2 separate regions of the Homo sapiens genome follow, and region 1 is linked to region 2. The links are contacts of gene promoters, found by promoter capture Hi-C in human tissues and cell types (Jung and others, 2019). All regions are on one chromosome and are shown on one strand. The core of a region is centred on a gene start or on the middle of the fragment in contact, and the rest is flanking DNA. Distances in the headings are between cores, read along the strand shown.

Region 1 (7,863 bases), core at 4,705-7,204, 670 kb after region 2:
CCACTTGGAGGAGGGTGAGTGAGGGGAGGGGCAGAAAGAGAAACCCCGATTCCAGGCCGGAGACTTCTGTACTATCTTTATGTGCCTTTAATTTGTGTTTTGAAAGTTTCCCAGGGGCTGATTGCCATTGCCCTATCTTGGCTAGTAAGATAGGATTGGACCAGCCCATGTGAAATTAGGGTTGGTAAAAATCTCTCTTAGTGACCTCCTGGGAGTGTTTGGAAACTTTTCTGCTTTGCAGCTGGGATCTAGCCAGAGTAGGACAGAAGCCCTCCTTCCCCAGGGTGTTGTGAGGAGTGGAGAGGCCTTGTAAAGCTCTCTCTGCCTCCACTCCCCTCCTCAGGGATCCCCCAGCTGGGTATCTTCTCCACGCTGGGGCAGTAGGCAGACTGTCTTCCTTTTGCCCAGCAAGTTTTAATCTTCATTTGTGAGAGGGCACGGCTCCCTGCACTGCTTTCCACATAAGAGGCCTTCGACACAGTGCTAAATAACTCTCAGAGGACAAGAGGGTCCCAGTGTACACACGATTCCCTGTTGAACCTGAACCTTGTATAAACAGGATATAGGGCACATGTGGTGCTTGTGGGAGGGAAGGCCCAGCTCCCCTTACTACCACATAATATAACGTTCTGTTGAGATGAGAGGAACGCTCGCCCTTGTCAGCTCTTAAACCGCTCTGTAAGCTGGCTTTGGGGTTTGATTTAAACTTCTTTAGCAAATGTATCGTAAAAGTATGATTTGGCCAAAACCTTTCCAAGAAAAAACTGATTTTGAAAAATGACCAGATTTCTGTGTTGTCTGTTAATAGCCATTCTTTTTACTTTTAGTACTATGAGATGTCCTATGGCTTGAACATTGAAATGCACAAGCAGGTAAGTGCTTTTCTCTTTTAAAAATATATTTCATTTTTTAAAAACTTATATATGTGGACTTCTTATGTTCTCTCTTGTTTGAAAGTGAGCCTGCTTCTTCGATTCCTCCCCCTTCTCCTTGAAGAGTGAATGGATCCAGTCCTTGAAATGCAAGGTCTGAGGCTTTGCTGATTTTTTTTTAGACATGTTGAGCTTTTAGCATTTGAGCTTGTGAAATTAGTCCTGGTCTTGGATCTCGGTGGAGGATAAAGGACCAAAGGGAAAGTTGTACCTCCAGGATCTGCTTTACAAACTCCTGAAAGCCCAGAGGTGGCTGGCTGCTTTTATCTGTTTTAATGTAAAATTCTCAAGAGGAAATGCAGGAGGATTTTTTTTTTCTTTCTCCTTTTTTTTTTCTTTTTGCAGAAATGTGATGTTCTGCCTTGATAAGATTAAACTTCAAGAACCTTAAAAGCCAGGCTGAGCTGTCGAAATTTAAGGGAACGAAGCCACTAACTGCTTAAAAATATGAAGCCAGAATGAAATACAACTTCAGTGCCTTGCATTGACAAGGTGGCTTTCTCATCCCTGTCTTGATTTGAAGGCAGCCGAGTTCCCATTTTACAGAGAAGGAAGCTGAAGCTCCTGGGTGAAGTAACTTGCCCAGGGGCAGCCTAGCCAGGACTTTCGAGATGGCTGGGGGTTGAGCTCAGCTTTGAAATCCTGAAGTCAAACCAGTTTAGCTAGTGTGGTGTCGTTTGATGGATATGTAAACTACCTGGTATTGTCACTCTTCTAATAACAGTATACCTCAAACCGAGCAAATACAAACACCCTTTATCTCAGTGCATATCAGTAACTAGTCCCAGTGCTAGGCTGGGCTGTGGGAGAGGCCTGTTTGTGTATTTGTGTTCTGAGGAAAGGCTGCCTATAATTTGGCTTGGCCAACGTTTAGAGTTGACTTGGCACGTATAAATGGAGCAGGCAGGCCGGTTGTTCTTTTTAACAATTGGTGTTCATGAAATCTCAGAAGGCTGTTGACTCATTCTAGCCTTTGGTGACCGTGACTTGAATGGATTTTCTGCTCTAAATTAACAGTCGTTTACAAGGTTTCAATTTTGCTCTTTAAGGAGGCAGGACCCAGGGCAGGTGAGAAGGGCAGGTGACCCTGGAAAGTGGGCAGATTCCTACCCACTCGGGTGGCTTCCTATAGAGCCTTTGGGATCTGTAGTTTCCTTTCCCCTCCTGGAGGGAGCCCCCAGTGTTGGGTGAAGGGAAGCCAGAAAGGGGCCTGAGTTTATTGAGCAATGTGTGGGAAGCCAGCTTGTGGCTTCCTGAGGGATTAGTTAGTCCCTTAGGAAGGCACATGAAGGCTACCATGTTTTTACTTCTTGACACACAGAAATAATAGACAGGGCTTTATACGTAAAGATATTTCTCCTTGGAAAAATAGAATAGAGACAGGTTCTGCAACTGGAAGGGGCCAGGTCCCGGAAGAATGCTTGAAATGGAACTGGGGGCCCAGGTGTTTCAAGGACCTTGGGGTGTATGCAGGGTGCCACTTCCTCCCTTTGTCTGCCCTGTCTTAATTTTTTTTTTCTCAAATAGTATCTTGGGTGTGTTTAAAGAGGGTAATTGCACCCAGGTTTAAAATTTATAGCAGCAGTTATTGGAAGAGCTTGGTAATTAAGGTGTAATGTCTCGTTGCATGTTGAGGTCTGCATGGGTGGTGTTCCGCATGTCTGTGAATGAATGGTGCTTTGGCACTAAGAATCCACCTTGGCTCGCAGCAGATCTGTTCTGTGAGTCCTGGGGATGCTGTGAACGCAGGAAGAGTTAAATATCTTAACGCATTTGGTGGTGGGGTTTATATAAAGAGCAGCTGTGTACATCTGGGATTTCTGGCCATTCCCCAAACAAGGTTCTTAAGGGGAGAATGCCTGGGGTTTGGCTACGTTGTCTCATTTAATCCTCTCAGCTGCCAGTGGTGGATAGAGGCATTCTTTGCCCCCTGTTTATAGGTGAGGAAACTGAGGCTTCAGGGAGGCCAGGAGGGCAGAGCTGGGATTCAAATCCAGCCCTCTGGCTTCCCCACTGGGCACTTTACCTTGCTTGCCACTCACCTTTGCCCTCTAGCCTGAGTTCCCAGCCTGAACATGTGTGCTCTGAATGCAGTGGCTTTGCAAGCTTATGGCAGTCTCTGAGTTGGGTGAAATCACCCTGTGGCTGTGGAGGAACAAAGAGGCAAGGAGGTGAAGAAACCTGTGCCGTGAAATGCAACCCTGATCTAATGGAGCTGGCCACTCCCTAGGTTTGCAAGGGTTCTGTAGAAGAAAGCCCTGCCACTAATTGTAGTGTGGGTCTTGGGTGCATTTGGCGAATGGTGGTTAGGCCTGAGCAAACAAGTTTATCAGCTGACCTGTTTAGCGGTTGACTGGTGTTTTATCGGCACACACAATCAAGTGACTGGAGTGCTTGAATTATTCATGCAGTGTCCTGCCCTCTAGACTTGACTGTTCGTGTGATTACATCTGCCTGGAACAAACAGGCTGGATTCTTCATCTTTAAGCTGGGGTGGGGGTGGGGACTGTCTGTACTTTTATATAATAGATGATCTATAGAGCTAGCACCTTGGGAAGTGTGGCAGTCCTCAGCCTGCGCGCATACACGCACACGCACTCCACCATCACCACCACATATTTTTTTTAAAAGCTCTCCTTTGCTGGCTCTATGGGAAATGCCAATTAGCTGGGAACCTCGAGTCCTGCCAGATGGGCCCGGGTATTGACAGAGGGCAGCTGATGAGGTGCGTCCAGCCCATTTTTATTTTACTGAGAGGTTAAACTCACTGTGGCTGGCTCCTTCTCTGGCTGTTTCTCTGTCTCTCTCTTTTTCCAAGCTGTCAAAATCCCAGAGAAGTAATAAATGGTTTCTCCTCCTGCTCTTCTGCCTCCCTCCCTAATTATGGTAAAGCAAAGATTACAGAATCACAGGCCTGGCCCGGGACTTCAAGAGGTCACCCACCTCCACCAAGCCCCCTGCTTCCAGGCAGAATGTCAAGGGTGGTTCAGAGAGTCTGGGAAGGCAGTGATGACTGACCGGCTCATCACTTGCCATCTTGTTTGTGCAGAGGCTTTCCAGTGTCAGCCACAAATAACAAAGCCAGCTTAAAACCAGGGGCCCCAGAGCAATTGCCATGCATTGGATTTGAGGCACTGGCTCTCTGAGAAGCTGGGTCAGGCAGCCTTTTCACCCACTGTTGGTGAGCACTGACATTTTTGAAAGTGGACTTGAGCCATTTTGATTTTGGGGCAGTGTCGTGCCGACACAATACAGTCACCTTTTTCTGTGAACTGAACAACCTTTCCTGTAAGTTTCTCTTTGAATCTTGGAACTGGAAGAGCCCTTTGGCTTCTCATGCAAACTTTTCAAGTTACAGATGAGGAAACGGTGGCCCAGAGAAGGGAAGCTTATGTACTCAGTCATACAGTCCCACGTTAGTGGTAAAGCTGCTACTGCTGCTTCCCTTCCAACCCAGGACTCTTTTCTGTAAGACTCAAGAAATGAAGAGTGCTCCTTTTCTAGTGTATTCTGTGTCTTTAATTACTATTGCTTCTTTCTGTGTTATTATCCAAACAGGCTAAGGCTACAAAACTGGCCCCACCAAAGTCCAAAGTGCCCCATTTCGGGTTGTATAATCATATCACTGAACCCTTATTGTCCACAGTCCTGTTTTGAATTGCCAGCTATTTGCACAACTAATGATTTGATGTGTGTAATAATAATACATAATGCATAACTAGCAATCCCAGAGGAAAGATTCACAGACCGGGAAAGGTGGTATATATAACCTGTGAACTTTTTACCCTAGCCATGGGGTGCCATAAACACAGGGCTGAGGTAGGAAATGGAAAATCCCCATTTGTCACTCCCCTCCCCTCCCCGCTCTGGATCTTCTCATCTAAATGATAAGGGGCTCACCTGGAAGATCTTGAGGCACACAGAAGTTTTGTGACCACGGTGAAGGTGCAAGGTACAGGTGGCCAGAGGGAGCTACCAGGCAATGAGGTTACAAAGGACTCTGCCAAGGAGTTGAGCCTATCTTGATAGGAGAATGTGGGACCACTTGCAAAGTAGAAGGGGTCAAAGGTCCTTAGACTAGGGAAGTGCCTATTTGTGTGGCATCTGAGTTGAGCTGTGAAATTTTTTTTTTCTTTTTTGCCAGAGTGCTAGCATCCAAGAACCCTCCCACCCGGCCCCATGCCCTGGTATCTGTCTTGACTTTTCCTGCTATATTGATCTTCCCTGGAACAGACTGTAATCACGAGTCCTCTCACTGAGTGGGTGCCTGCCTCGCTCAGCTTTGGGGTCTGCTGGGCTCCAAGCTCCCTGCATGCTGTCTAGCTAGAGGGAGGTTGCCCCACCCCTCAAGACTGCCTTTGGACCCCTTTTCTCTAGTTGCCAGTGGGAGTGGTAGAGTGGGGGTTTCAGTGCTTTTGGGGTCTTTTCCTTCTTGTGCATTTGTCATTGAAATGACCCTGGGAGATGAGCAAATGGCCCCTTGTCCTTACTTTACAGATCAACGGGTGGGAACCTGGCTCCTAATTCGGGACTCATTCTCTGAACTCTCTTGGACCAGGAGCCCGTGGCAGACACGGAGTTCTTCCTTTCCTTGAACTCCTCCTTCCCACCTAGGCTGTTTGTTTCCATTTTGTTGAAGGAGTGAGTCAGTCAAGGAATAAATCTCCTTTTGCTTTCTACGTGGGAGAATGTCATTCTGTCTCATTGTTTGTACAAAATACTGGGACACCAGGGGCAAAAACGTGACAAAGACCTAAGCTTGGCAGTGTTTTCCCCTGTGATCTGGCACTCATTCCTCGTCTCATTTTTGTAGGTATGAAGGAAGCCCCTCTGCTGAGGTCTCTATAGCACTTAGTATGTAATAGGTGCTCAGTAAACATCTTGGTTTTTCTTCAAAATTTACTCAGGTTATCTGAGAGTAGAGTTCCGATTCCCTGAGCCCTGTGAGTAGGAAGTGGGGATTTTAGTTGTGGGCTGGCCGCCCGCTCTGCAGGCTTCCTCCTATGGCCCAGCATCCAGTTTCTTCATCAGTGAAATGAGGGGGTTGGATTCATTCCCAAAGCAGTTATTAGGGGACTGGGATGTGCTGGGTGTGGGCTGGGGTTGGTTACACAGCCGAATAAGACACCATTCCCTCTGCGGGGGAGTCGGATGTCTAAAGAAGTAATTGCAATGCAGTGAGGTAAGTGCTAATGTGGCCCAAGTGTCATAGGAGGAGCACCCAGCACAGAACAGCTTATTCTTCTTGGGTGAGAGCAGACTTCACTGAGGGCTTTGCTTGGCGCGAGTCTGAAAGGGAGGGTAGGGTTTATGAGGCAGAAGTCGGCAGCCGAGGCCCCTCCAGGGTGGCAACAGCTCGCGGCAAGGCAGTGAGATATGTTCTAGAAGCCACACGTCTTCGGAATGATGTGGGGCGGGGACTGCACTTGGGAAGTGAGGCGAGGTGGTGACATTTTGCAGCAGAGCGATCTCCAAGGCCCCTCTGCCCTTGCAGTCGCGGCTCCCCACCCGGTGGCTCCCTGCATCCCTGCATGGCTGGCTCTCCAGGGCTGGCCTGAGTCCATCTGCCGCGGGGTGGGGGTGGGGGCGGGGGCGGGGGCCCGCTCTGGGCCGTTTGTGGCCTGCTCTGCCTGCTTTCCTACCGTAATATGCTGCTTTGAACTTTATTCCCCAAAGTGGCATTGTCTCCTTTCTCATATTGGTAATTCTGTAATGACTGGTTATGACCCGCCCCCTCCCCCATATTTAATTCTCATCAGCCCAGCTCTCCACTTTGCTATTAATGATAGCAGCCAGCAAAATAGCTTTCAACATGCCATTGACAGTCTGGTTTAAGAGAGCACTTGAAGTAGTGCTAGACAGCTGAAAGCACCCATAATTGTGTACCAGAGTGAGAACTGCGTGCTCAAGGGCCTTGTTTTTATATGCTTAAAGGGACAATATCTTGTTTTCAACAAATGCTCTCTGAGACTCACAGCCAAGATGCTTTCTTCCTTTTTCCTTTTCCTTTCTTCTTTTGGCTTTCTCTTCTCCTTCAAAATACATATTTAAAAAAAATTCTTTATAAAATAATTGTTCCCTTCAAGTTGGGGTTAAGGAGAAACTTAAGGAAGGGGGAAACGTCCTGCCGCCATGTAAGCGGGGAATATTTGGTGGGTTTGTTGTTTTGAAGCATCGTCCTTTGCAGGCAGCAAGCTGTGGGTCAGCCTTGCCCTACTGAGGGTCCTTAGGACCTTGCGTTTCTCAAGGAGGTAATGGGAGAGTCTGAATTCGCATCAGCATTGATTTTGAATTCTTTTCTTTGCTAAGGATGTTGCACAATCAGTGGGCTGCAGAGCTGTCACTGTGAATGTTTAGGCAGAGGCCACCTTTTGGGGGAGGGCTGGAGGAGAGGGGTCACCGTGTTGGAGAGTCAGGCCATGACCGCTAAGGAATCAGATTCTAGGAGGCTGTTTGCTGCAGAGTTGATGGCCCAAGAGGCCCGTCTGGAAATCAACAGGGTGGGTGGGGCAAGGACTTGTATTCTTAAGTACAGGTTCACACCAGGCTTGGAGGGTTAACCAGGGGGCCCGGCTAGTCCACCCGGCAGATTTTATCTGAGAACAAATACTTTTCTCCCCTTCACACCAGCCGACTTCATTATTGCTTTGAAAATGCAGTCCTTTGGAAGAGGTTTCCTTTGCCTCTCTGTCACCAAAGCCTCCCATTGCCAATGTGTCCTGTGAAGGGAGAAGAGAGAAGCAACTTCCCATCTGTGGGGCCTGAGAGGCCAGGGAAACCCTGTTGGGGCCTGAAGTCTATGTTGTCCTGTTCTCTCCCAGGCTGGCTGCTCTTGGTAAAGGGTAGGAGCATGGATGGGCTTGGCTCGTGTGTCTTAGGTGGTTCCTTCCATCACCCACTGTGTGAAGGATAGGATCCAGTGTTCTGGCTG
Region 2 (7,235 bases), core at 3,013-5,512:
CATCTGAGAGAATGACTGATGTCATGGGCCCCTTCATGAAATTATTCACTGGCTTTGTTCACTGGGTCCCCAGGGCTACTCGGAGCAGCAAGAAGTTCTGAAAATGAAGAGGGAAGTCATTGGATATAGAATTCATAACTAAAGCTTGTCTGGAAGGAGATCTTTATGTTTGAAAAGGACTCATTTTATGTGCAAATTTTAGACTTTGTATGTCAATTCTTTTTTTTTTTTTGAGATGAAGTCTTGCTCTATCACCCAGGCTGGAGTGCAGTGGCGTTATTCTGGCTCGCTGCAACCTCTGCCTCCTGGGTTCAAGCGATTCTCCTGCCTCAGCCTCCCCAGTAGCTGGGATTACAGGCTTCCACCACCACGCCCAGCTAATTTTTGTATTTTAGTAGAGATGGGGTTTCACCATGTTCACCAGGCTGGTCTCAAACTCCTGACCTCAAGTGATCTGTCCACTTTGGCCTCCCAAAGTCCTGGAATTACAGTTGTGAGCCACCATGCCCGGCCTGTGTGTGGATTCTTTTTTTTATTGTTGTTGTTTTTGTTTTTGTTTTTTGTTTTTTTTTTTTTTTTTGAGATGGAGTCTTGCTCTGTCGCTCAGGCCGGAGTGCAGTGGCGCCATCTCGGCTCACTGCAAGCTCCACCTCCCAGGTTCACGCCATTCTCCTGCCTCAGCCTCCAGAGTAGCTGGGACTACAGGTGCCTGCCACCACGCCTGGCTAATTTTTTGTATTTTTAGTGGAGACGGGGTTTCACCATATTAGCCAGGATTGTCTCGATCTCCTGACCCCGTGATCCACCCGCCTCGGCCTTCCAAAGTGCTGGGATTACAGGTGTGAGCCACTGTGCCCGGCCCTCTGTGTGGATTCTTTATTCTTCTTCTGAGAAATCATATTTGTCATCGTTTTTGCCGTTATCATCATCTGAGTTATCAGTGAGCATCTGTCGACTGTGTTCTCTTCCCTGTTCTGGCAGGTCCCCTGGGTATCCTCTGCCCATCTGGTATTACTTCTCACCTGTTGGTATTCATTGAATGGATACTCAACCTTGGATAGCCTCCCTTCAGGCAAACTTATCTGTTGATCTTTTCCTTCCCTAAATACCATCTGCAATCTTACTACACGATTCAGTAAGCGATTGTCCAGTTAAACTGTATGTGTTAGCATACAGCTTACACATTTGTTATCTAATCCAGAACACAAGTTCCTTGACAGCAGGGATCAAAATAGGGGTGGTAAGCAGATCAACTTGCTCCATTTGTATTATTTGAGATTACCATGTGTATATATAATCTAGTAAAGTAATTTTAAAAAATGCATTACCCTTCCTGGTATATATTGTAAATAAATAAATATTGGAAAAAAAAAAGAAGTAAAACAAAAAAATATTTTATATAGGCTCAGTGTGATAACAAACAAAAGGTCATCTAGGTTTGATAAGTGCCCTTTGCTCTGAAGGGAAGATAAAAATAAATAATAGTGATAAGAGTTAACAAAATAAAACCCAACCTGTCTGGTTGAATGCTAATAATAGTGACTTTACTTCATATAGGCAGCTTCCAGATCAATGTAAAAAAGCTTTACTGAATATTCAGACCAGTGCTATTTACTTAGCTGCTCTCAAATGGGAATAAGCAGACATCAGCTATCAAGTTTCTAGGCTGGAAAAATCCATAAAGGCCACTGGACACAGACACCATGGGGACATCATCCAGACAGTTCATAAAAATAACTTGCCCAACATTTTTGGAACCTGATGCAAGCTATACTTGTGGTTCTGTCTGTTTCCTTTGCTTTATCCAGTAACAACAGAAAAGGAGGCCAGTCACCAGGACTATGATAACTTGGATGTTACAGGAGACAACCAGTACAACATAACACTGCAATTAATAACTCAAGAGCCAATTACTGAGACAGTGCTCTTGTAAGCAATTAACATTTAAGATTCAGTCAGAGGACTAGATGGTAAATGGGTGCTTATCTTAAGCCCAGAGAAAGGAGTTGATTGAGACACAAATATTTGAGCAGGACCATAGCCTCAGATCATTCCATCTGTGTTCACAATAGGGGGAATCCCAATCCTGTGTCACATAAATACATAGAACAAACAACCATAATTTGCTATAGTAGTCAATAAGAATGCATCAATTCATTCAGAAATATTTATTAAACACCTATAACATGCTAAGCATTCTAGGGAATTCAAATATATGTCAGTTATTCCCCAATTTTAAGTAAATTGAAGTCCAGTAATGAAATAAGGTTTGCTCAGCTCATATGTGTTAGTATCATATGAGAGGTATAATTGCTGTAACTATTTGGAGGATGGAGAGATCACTTCCAGTTACTTGATCAGGGAAGGTTCTATAGAGAGGAGGGCACTTGGAAGGGACATACACTTAAAAACAAACTTTTTGTTAAAGCATAACACACACATAAAAGAGAATATATTGCATACAGTACAGGCTCATTGAATTTTCACAATCTGAAAACACTAGATATGTAACCAGCACCCACAGAGAATAGTACAGTATTCCAGAAGCCCCCGACATCCCCTACCAATCACTCTTGGGGGAGTAGGATTTTCTGAGATGAATGTAGACAGACAGAAGATTATTGGGGGAGGGATCAGTATGCATAAAGATGTGGAAGTTGAAAGCCATGACCCATGTTTGGAGAATGGGCTGAAGAGTAATTCGCTTGGGGTGTTGGCTAGAGAACAGGGTCGCGTCCACGTTATACAGCTTTAAATGCAAAGAATTAGATTTTATTCGTTAGCTGCTGAAGGCTTTTGAGCAAGAGGAGTATTTTTGTAAGACTTATTGATGATGGCTGATAATTTATTGGTGATGGGACAATTAAGAGACTGAAGGTTGGGAGACTGGCTGGGAAGCTTCTGTAATAATAGTCCGGGTATGAGGTAATTTTGGCTCTGCAGTGGCAGTGAGAACAGAGTAACTGACCATACACAGACACTTTAAAGAGCCAACAAGAACTAAATGACTGGAGATCTAGAGGAAGGGGGAGGAATCAAAGAAAATTTTCTTCCAAAGATCTAATCAAGATGAAATTTAATAATATTTTTGGGTAGTTAGTTGTTATTTACTTGTTGTATAGGGTTAACACAGTCTTTGAATGCTGCCTCTCCAAGAAATTCTGAAAACTTTCTTACAGTATTTGAAGAAAACCTTGCGTTACTATAAAGAAACTCTAAAGAGAGCAACTGACCTTTCAGACAAAAAAGAGTCCTTTGTTAGTCAGAAAATGTGGACCGTTTGTCTTTTCAAATGGATGCATGCTACGATAAACGTTTTGCTGGGGGGAAAAATGACTCCAAAGAAGACTTTTGAAGATGTCACCCGAACAGCAAATTATTGGGTGCTGAGCACCTTCCTGTTTCTTCATCCTCTTAAATAATTTTTACTAACCCAGATTTCTAGGTAAGATGATTTAACTTCATCGTATACGTTTACATGTAATGTGTTTCTACAGAAAACAAAAAACCTTTTTGAAGAAAAAAGGGCGTAACTTTTTTTGACAACTTAAATCACTGGCTGTGGGAGTCATTTTTAATTGATGGCACCTCTTCTCCTCCCTCCCCGCCCCCATTCCGTCCCTTTGCTTCCAATACGGCGGATTCTTCACTCAACAAATAAACGAGCACGTAACTTGTACTGTAACTTACTATAACGTCTTTCAAGGTCTTTCTTAACTGTACGTTTTTCTGCACAATCAGCACCTTATTTCTTAGAGACTGTTTATTTCTGGAATTTTTGATGCGTGTGGTGGTTTCCAGGCACCAGGATTTGGTAGTAAAACAGGAGACTGAAAAGAAGTTGCTCCTGAAAGCTGTTCTGTGTGCAGGTAACCAAGAGTCATTTCTAAGACCAGACGGAAGGGAAGGAACTTTACTTGGTAAAGAGCGCGTGGGTGGAAAGAGGAGGGGAGTCCGGGAAGATGAGAGGTGGCAAAGGCGGGACCCCGTGCTCTCTCTAGATCTTAAGCTCCGGGTGGGCGGGCGCCGGTGGCCTGGAGCCCGGCCTGCGCGCATCTCCACGCCTCTGGCCGCCCACCTCCTCCGCCCCTTCCCGGGCTAAAGTTCCCAAACTTTTCCTCCAGCTGGGAGAGGAAGGGTGTTACTCAGTTTAAAAGGGAAGTCCCGCCCCATTCCCGCATTCCGATTGGTCGCGGTTTGCCACGCCCCCGCCAGGGCAGCGGGTCAATTGGCTACGGGAGGGGAGCCCCGCCTCAGGCCTGTCGACGTCTGCTGCCCGGGGCCCGCAGGTGGCAGGCAGGTGGGGCTGGTACAGCCCGCGCCGCCTCTGCTGCAGCCGCTGCCGTCTACTCCTTGCGCGCTGGCACTCCGCAGCCTTTAAGGTTCGCGCGGGGGCCAGGCAAGAGTTAGCCATGAAGAGCCTCAAGTCCCGCCTGAGGAGGCAGGACGTGCCCGGCCCCGCGTCGTCTGGCGCCGCCGCCGCCAGCGCGGTGAGTCCCGCGGTCCGGGCTGCGAGGCGCTCCGCTCCGGGAGCAGCGCAGCCCTCCTTTGCTGGCGAGTTCGCGCGCCGCCTTCCTCTGCTTTTCCTCTGCCAGTTCGGCTTCGGCGGCCCTGGCGACTCCTCCCTGAGGCCGGAGACTCCGTCAGCCCAGAGACCCCGGGGATCCTCCCCGCCGCCGCACCCGAGCCTCTACGGGTCTCTTCCCCACCCCTTTCTCCCAAGCCTCCGAACTTCTGGAAGAAACCTCAGTGGGGCGGTTCTGGCCCCCTCCTCCTAAATCCAAAGTTCCTCGATTGGCACCCCTACTCCGCTCTTTCCGTTGACCCCCCCTCGTCGCTCTCCTCTCCCGGCGCTCGCCCTGCTGCCCACGCCCGCTCGGCCGTGTTGGCTCCCCAGTCCCCGGGGCCGGGGCTCGCACCAGGTAGGGCAGGTGGGCAGGGCTGCGCACCCCGCGCCACCGTGCCCGGACTCCGGACCTTCCCCGGGTCTGAGACAGCGTCAAGCCCTGCCGGGCTGGTGGACGTCCCGTGCTGGCCGCTGTCGTTGTCACTGGGAAGTTTGATTCCCCAGCGAGGCAGAGGGAATCGGCTTAGTCGTAAAGACAAAACCCCACAGGGTGGTGACCCTAGAGGTGGTGAAGTTGGGAGGGGTGGTGGTGATGTGGGTTGTGTAAATCGCACCTGTGGGGCGGGATCCGTGCGGGGCTCTTTCGGTGCTGACCTGCAGCGCGGCCTCAGTGTGCGCGCCAAGGAGTAGTCGGGGCCTCTTTAGTTGGCAGGAGAACAGAAATCTTGAGAAACAGCCTGACCGCAGATGTTGTGATTTAGATAATTTGTCACGTTACAAGAATGGCGATATCATCAAAATTCTATATCATTAAAATAAGTGCCACTTACAAAGTCTTGGAAGAGTCGAACGTAAAGGAGTTGTTATGCTCCAACTGCACAGTTACCTAGTTGGGGTAATTAAAATGAACCTTTACAATTCAACGCAGATTTTACCAAATGATTATATTCTTTTTATCAGAATACTAATTAATCTGCTTCTGCTTTTTTGAGTTAATTCAGTTATGCCTTTCTCTCCACCTATATCGAGGATTATTTTACTTGGACATAAAGGAAATTGTGGAGGAACTACCTAGACTTAAATTCCTATTTCAAAAAAAGAGAGTAGATTCAGATGACGTAATTGATGTTCTTTGATAAAGCATGAAGTCGTTTTATAAGCTCATGGAAAACAGAGATTACTTTGTTTCACTTTTTTTTTTAAAAAAAGTAACTGGCAGAAATGTCATTTAGTGATATTGGAGTTCATTACAGTTAAGATTCTACTTCTGTAATGCAAGTTGTGTTTTTAGCCTTATAGAAGATACAAGTTTCTAGATTTATTAGCTTTGTTTTCCCTGGTTGTGTTTGATTTGCACTAAGGATGTAAATCCCACTTGGAGGTTTATATGCCTTAATTTTATCCAGTTTTCTAGAAATGCAGAGTATTTAGTAGGTATTATCAGCATGATAGTTTGCATTTTATACATTTGGAACATAAAGTGCATATCTCTGAGCTTAAATCTTTAGCACTCAATTGAGCGTTCTATTTTTCTCAAAATGACATAATAAAGATAAACATGATATTAACCTATTTATGTAGAAAAAGCAAACATTTCTGTTTAAATATTAGAATAAGTTCTGTACAATTTAAAAATAAAAGCGTAATGAGGAATAAAACTTAGAATGAATTCTGTAAAATTTTAAAATAAAACTGTAGTGATGAATAAAACCAAACCAAGCATTGATAGAATAAAACACATGTACAGGAGAAATAGACCCTTTCTGCTTTTCAATCTATAAACCATAATCCCAGATTTGGTCACATGTATATGTATTTATTGTATGATTGGGCCACCCTTTTTTTTTTTCTTTTTGCCTTTAAAAACAGTTATTTTTTGAATAGGTAATATAGCACATGGTTTAATATTGGAAAGGAATAAAAATATTTACAACAAAATATCGACACCGTGTTTCCCTAACCCCTGCTTCAGCCACCCTGCCCCCACTTCCTGAGGCCACTGATGATACAGTTGCTTGCATGTTCCTCCAGAGAGAGCTTAGCATATACAAGCAAATATGAATATAGTCACCCTTTATAGAAATGCTAGCACACTGTAGCTGCTGTTTCATATCTTGGACTTTTTTTTTTAAAACTGTAAATAGAGGCTCCCCATTCATATCTTTTGCTGTAATGTACAATTCTGTGATTAATATTCATATTTCAAGTGTGTGTCTGTACCTGTAGGATTAATTCCTAAAAGTGAATTGCTGGGTTAAAGGATATGTGCATTTGTAATTTTGAAGGATGTTGTCAAGTTTCCTTTCATGCATCATGGAACCAGCATATGAGAAATGTTTTCCAAGCTTTTAATAGAAGTCTGTTCAAAGTTTTTGACCTTTGCTAGCCTGATAGGTAAGAACAGTTTATCCTTTCCATTTTTCTTTTTCTGTTTTTTTTTTTTTTTTGAGACGGAGTCTCGCTCGGTCGCCAGGCTGGAGTGCAATGGGACCATCTTGGCTCATTGCAACCTCCGCCTCCCAGGTTCAAGTGATTCTCCTGCCTCAGCCTCCTGAGTAGCTGGGACTACAGGCGTGCACCACCACGCCAGGCTAATTTTTGTATTTTTAGTAGAGACAGGGTTTCACCATGTTGTCCAGGATGGTCTCAATCTCTTGACCTTGTGATC

Evidence for each region. The method cuts DNA at HindIII sites, captures the fragments that hold promoters and counts their contacts. A contact is called where the count stands out against the background at its distance.
Region 1: a fragment that was not itself captured here is called in contact with the fragment with the promoter of UACA in region 2 in 1 of the 25 tissues and cell types used here (H1 embryonic stem cells).

The regions. Positions count from the first base shown.
Region 1 is chr15:70,087,541-70,095,403 of GRCh38, reverse strand. It overlaps TLE3 (TLE family member 3, transcriptional corepressor), which reads left to right. Exons shown (of 20, transcript NM_001105192.3): 4 at 828-872. Among named protein-coding and RNA genes, the nearest start is that of TLE3, 6.4 kb to the left of the region's middle. RefSeq lists an enhancer at 6,175-6,762. The HindIII fragment of the contact is 4,549 bases long and covers 3,680-7,863 here.
Region 2 is chr15:70,760,585-70,767,819 of GRCh38, reverse strand. UACA (uveal autoantigen with coiled-coil domains and ankyrin repeats) reads left to right here and starts at 4,262. Exons shown (of 19, transcript NM_018003.4): 1 at 4,262-4,490. The coding sequence starts at 4,413. RefSeq lists a silencer at 4,088-4,497. The HindIII fragment of the contact is 5,114 bases long and covers 2,242-7,235 here.